2 separate regions of the Homo sapiens genome follow, and region 1 is linked to region 2. The links are contacts of gene promoters, found by promoter capture Hi-C in human tissues and cell types (Jung and others, 2019). All regions are on one chromosome and are shown on one strand. Each heading gives the region's core, a stretch centred on a gene start or on the middle of the fragment in contact. The rest is flanking DNA. Distances are from core to core; before and after follow the strand shown.

Region 1 (2,740 bases), core at 179-2,678, 380 kb before region 2:
TTTGTCACGGTGAGCTACTTCTCACAGGAGTCAGGATCCGCATCTGCACACTATACAAAGACAAACAACACAGAGTAAAAGCACAATCATCATTGAAATCACAGAGCCTCCAAGTGTTTTTATCCATTTGAATGGGTTACTAGCTGCTAATCTGTCTGCAGCTCCTTCAAGCACTCCAGTTCCTGGCATTAAGTTCACGTGTGCCTGGGATACTTTAAATATTTGTTCTTTCAATTTTGCAATATCCAAATACAAGTTTGTAGAGTGGCCTTCTAGATGCTTTTTTATTCTTTCCCAAATTTTGATTTTATTAAGAGCTATTAACAGTTTCCACAAATGCTTATGTTTAGCTCCTAGAGCAGGCCATATCATTTGAGGCTGAGGTGCCACTATACTGCCATGGTTCCAGATAATAGGAACTCTTGCTGTATTTCTTACCATTTCTATCATCTGACCATTTTGTTCAGATGAGCTGATCACAGTGTGGCCATGGCATGCAGACTGAGAGGTGCAGTTCAAGCTAAACATCCCCATAGGTGACCAATTAATAATGATTCCATAGGAATTGTTGTGCAGCACCTCTGCCTGTTCTGCAAAGCAATCTTCCTAAACAAGTACGTTCATTTTTGCTAACTGGGTCCAATCCTGTTTACAAATATGTTTTTGAGGGCAGTATGCCTCAATTATAGGAGCAGATTTATTATGAGATCAGAAAGCTTGTATAACTGTGTCATAGAGTGATTACATCCAGGCATTATTGCCAGCCAAGATTGATAAATATGCCCAATAAGTATAATTGTCCTCTGTGTCAGCCCTTATTGAAGGAATACTCATGGCAGTGGTGATCATCGCTATCATAGCTACCATTAAATTACTCATTGCGACTGGTTGTCCCACTTTCCTCAGGTTTTCTTCCACCATCTGTGACAGCTTCTTGATCTGTCTCCAGGTGGGTGGCTGTGTTTGACAGGTGTTGCTCGTGACAGTTGGGGTCTTCCTCAGCGTCAGTCTCGACATGGCTGCAACCGGGGGTGGGGGGGGTCCTCAGTTTCCTCCCGGAATCTCTTCCTCAGCATCTGGCTCATGATAAGGTTTCAGGTGTCTTGATGGTATCCAAATCGGCTGTTGAGTCAGTCCTGGAGAAACACAAGCATAACCTCTACCCCAAGTTATTATTTTACCTATTTCCTAACTTTTTGTTATTGGATCTCTCCACCAAACTAGTTGTTCTGCTTCTGTCTTTGCAGCTGGTTTCTGTAGATGCTGTTCAGCTACTGATAGGATCTGGCCTTTAGGCAGGCTCAAAAAATTTAAAGTTAACAATGCTAGATTCAGTTGCATATGGGGTGTCCCGTAGTCCTTGTTTTCCCCCCTTTTTTTTGCTTTTGCAACTGCTGTTTCAGGGAGAGATTCATTCTTTCCACTATGGCTTGTCCTTGAGAATTATATGGGATACCAGTAATGTGTTTAATATTCCGTATAGAGAAAAATGTAGCTAGAGCTCGGCTAGTGTAGCCTGGGGCTTTATCTGTTTTAATAGAAGCTGGAATGCCCATCACTGCAAAACACTGCAAAAGGTGACGCCTGGAAGAGGTGTATGAGCCCTAATGTGAGTGATGTAAAAAGGGTGCATTCTACTCCTAACTGCTGTTTGCAGTTGGGTAAATAAAATCATCAGTTGTTCATCTGCAGGAAATTGTAACTGAGCATTTTCAGTTAATTGTGTGGAATGAATCACGTATGAAGAGTCAGAAATCACATTAATAGGCATATGAAAAGCAGTCACTACCTCAATTACAGCTACAGGCTCCACTTTTTGAGCTGAAGTATAGGGCATCTGAAAAACTTTACTTTTTGAGCCAGAATAAGAAGCTTTACCATTACTAGACCCATCTGTAAAAACATTTTCAGCACCTTCAATTGGTTTAAATTTAGTTATTTTAGGGAGAATCCAATTAGTTAATTTCAAAAATTAAAACAGTTTTGTTTAGGAAAATGGTTATCGAGAATACCCACAAAGTCAGCTTAATTGGTTTGCCAAGTAAGACTATTTATAAAAGCTTGCTGTATTTGTGCCTTTGTGAGAGGGATAATAATTTTTCCAGGATCATATCCATGTAATTTAACAATCCGAGTTCTCCCATTTCCTATCATAGTAGCAATTTGATCCAAATAAGGAGTTAGAGTCCGTGAATTAGTATGTGGAAGAAAAAGCCACTCTACAAGATCTCACTCTTGAACAATAACACCAGTAGGTGAATGCTGAGTTGGAAAAATTAGCAAATCTAGAGTCTTCTCTGGATCTAATCTATTTATTTGAGCTTTATGGACTTGCTTTTCGATTAGCCGCAGCTCTGCCTCAGCTTCTCTTGTTAATTACCGAGGGCTTGTGAGACCAGGATCTCCTCTAAGGATAGAAAATAGATTACTCATGGCATAGGTAGGAATGCCTAGAGCAGGTCGTATCCAATTAATGTCCCCTAGTAATTTTTGAAAGTCCTTTAATGTTTTCAATTGATTCCTATGTATGGTTGCTTTCTGTGGCACAATGGTAGTGTCATTTACTAAGGTCCCCAAGTAGGAGTAAGGAGTAGTAGTCTGAATTTTGTCAGGAGCTATAATTAAACCAGCGCAAGAAATCGAATTTTGTAAGTGATCATAACATTGGAGTAATACTTCTCGAGTGGGGGCAGCACAAAGTATATCATCCATATAATGAATAATGTAACACTGTGAAAAC
Region 2 (2,987 bases), core at 189-2,688:
TACATACCTCACACACACACACACACACACAAAACCACAAGCATACAGATACGAGGCTGATCCACACTGGAACACGCACACAGGCACAAAAAGATCCACCTTTGCAGACACGCCAAGATGTTCACTCATAACAGACACATGCTCACACAACAGTCCTGTGATTTACACACTTCCAAATGCATAGAAAATACTGAACCACAGTAGCACAGTCAGTAGACAGGCCCAGATTCACACTCACACAGTCTTGGACACACATTCCTCCCAGCCCTGAGGCACCCCCCCACCACCCCACCTACTTACTTCCCAGGCCCAAGAAATCCTAACATCCCTGCAGCACATTCAGCATCCTGCCCTCCACACCCCCAAAAAACCAGGGCAAAAGCCAGGCCAGAGGTCAGAGTTCAGCAGGTGGAAACTCAAGAGGATTTGGGGGTTTGAGTCCTAGATCACCGTTTCAAGGAGATCCTCCCACCAGCAGCCCCAAAGGTTCCCCAGCCTGGCCATCAGGATGGAGGTAACTCTGGCTCCGTCTGCAGATGTCTGGCCGGTGGGGGAATTAGGGTGGAGTGGGTGGGGAAGGGCCGGGTCTTCGCCCCCCAACCCCCACCTCAGGGCCCATCTGTCCATTTCTCGGCCTCTCATCCCCCCTCCATCTGTCCACCTCCTGGCCGCCCATCCCCCCCCCGCAACCACCGGGAAGGGGAAGACATGGCCGCTTCCCCCAGGACCGCTAAGGACCCCCCAGTTGACATGGACCGAGGGAGCGGCGAACTCCCCTCCCCCAAATCCACACCGAGGCCTGGGCGCCGAGCCTCAGCCCCCAAGCCAGCAACCTGCCGTGGACTCACAGATACACACCCTCGGAGACATACAACCCGCAGACACACACACACACACACACACACACACACACACACAAATGGACACCCGAGCGGGCACACCCGGCTCCACAGACCCGGGGATGGACATCCAACCCGGACACAAACACCCAGAGCAGCTAGTCGCGCACGCACATGGGCTTGGGGGGGACCCACACCTGGGCACACAACCCACGCACACACACACCTGCACACAGCCCCTCCGATGGGCGCGCGACAGCGCCCAGACACACAGCCGGAGGGGCGGCCGCTCGGGGGGACACGCGTGCACAGCCGGACACGCCGGCCGGGCTCGACACCCCGCGCACACCCGATGGCCACACGGGCAGGGCGCCGCACACGCCGGCACCGGGCACACATAGGGCCGCGCGGGCGCACGCCGGGCCCGCCGCAGCGCCACGGACACACACTCGCACGCTCGCACGCTCACACCCGCGCACACACCCGCGCCCCCGCCCGCCGCTCCCGGGCCGCTGCAGGCCGCGCTCACCCAGCCCGGGGGGGCCCCGGGCCCGGCCCCGCCGCCGCTGCCTCGCTCCGCGCCATGGTGGGGGGAGGGCCGGGGGAGGGGGCGCGGTGCCGCGGGGCCGCCTCCCTCCCGCCTCCCGCCCTCCCTCCCGAGCCGCAGCCGAGCTCCGCCCTCCGCGCCGCCCGCCGCCACCGCCGCCGCAAGGGGGGAGGGGGCGCCGACTGGTGGGGGCGGCCGGGCGGGGCGGTCGCACACCCGGGATCCCCGCCCCGAACCCGCCGCAGACCCCTCTCCACTGCCGAGCCGCCGCGGGCCCGCCCCCGACCCTTCCCCAGCCCCACCCCCAGCCCCGCCGGCCTCCCCGGAGACCCCCCCAGACCACGCCCCAACTGGCCTAGGGACCCCGGATCTCCCTACAGAGACCTCCCATCACGTCCTAATACCCAGGGGGACCTCGGATCAGGCCTCACCTCTTTTGAGAACCCAGGCGATGTTCTAGGGCCACCCAGGACCACAAATCATGCCCTGCTCTCCTGCTTGACCTCAGACTATGACCCACACACTGTCAGGAACCCCAGACCATGCCCCCAAACCCAGAAGAATCCCAGATCATATCCCAGCATCCAAGGGGATCCAGACCACCCCACCAGCAACCCTAAATCATATCCCAACATTCAGATAGACCCCCAGACCACACCCCTTCCCTCACGGACCCCAAATCATACCCTAACATCGGGGGAGACTTCAGACCATATGTCAGCCAAATCCCAGATGGTGCCTGACTCCCTTTGGGGACCCAAACCACATTCTACAGCCACCAGAACCACAAATCATATTCCACTCCTTCTTGGGGACCCCCAGCCATGTCCTTCTACCCTCAAGGACCCTAACCCATTCCCTTACCCCCAGTATGAACTCCAAACCATGCCTAACTTCTAGGGGGCCCTAAAATGTCTCTTATCCCTATGGAAGACCCTTAAACTTTCCCCATGAACCCCATTAGACCCCAAACCATCTTCCACCCCTTTGACCTTACACCTTTCTCTCTCCTTCTCCTCCAAGACATCCTTTGGTTTCCAAAACTCCCCAATTAGCCCCAATTTTTTCCCACCCCCTACTAGTCCTGCCCCCTTGAGGACCCTGCCTCCTTCTTGCTCCAGTTCTTTCTCTTGGACCCTGAAAGTCCCCCCTCCCTGTGACTTCCATAGAGCCCAGAATGCCTTGCTCCTTCCTAGTTCAGACCCCTTTGCCCATCCCCTGTCCCATAGCTGAACCCCACCCCTTCCCTCAAACCCCACTGAGTATCTCAGGCCACTCTCCTTCTCTTTCTGAGATATTCACAGGGTCCCTAAACCCAGCAACTTCTCCCCTAAAAATCTGTGTTGTTTCATGCAGTGCCCCAGATTCCTGGGGTCTCAAACCCTTCTCGTTTTGGATCCCACTGTACAGAGGTCCTCCTCTAAACCCCTTTCCTAATTTTTTTTTTTTTTTAGACAAAGTCTCACTCTGTCACCCAGGCTGGAGTAGAGTGGCACGATCTCGGCTCACTGCAACCTCCACCTCCCAGGTTCAAGCAATTCTCCTGCCTCAGCCTCCCTAGTAGCTGGGATTACAGGTGTGCGCCACCACGCCCGGCTAAT

What was found. Contacts are between HindIII fragments. The study calls those that stand out against the background at their distance.
Region 1: a fragment that was not itself captured here is called in contact with the fragment with the promoter of LRFN1 in region 2 in 1 of the 25 tissues and cell types used here (dorsolateral prefrontal cortex).

What each region holds. Positions count from the first base shown.
Region 1 is chr19:38,935,717-38,938,456 of GRCh38, forward strand. LOC124904713 (a long non-coding RNA gene) reads right to left here. Exons shown (of 2, transcript XR_007067253.1): 2 at 1-1,136. Among named protein-coding and RNA genes, the nearest start is that of MRPS12, 6.1 kb to the left of the region's middle. The HindIII fragment of the contact is 4,061 bases long and covers 1-2,740 here.
Region 2 is chr19:39,319,425-39,322,411 of GRCh38, forward strand. LRFN1 (leucine rich repeat and fibronectin type III domain containing 1) reads right to left here and starts at 1,439. Exons shown (of 5, transcript NM_020862.2): 1 at 1,369-1,439. RefSeq lists a silencer at 1,028-1,287. The HindIII fragment of the contact is 12,533 bases long and covers 1-2,987 here.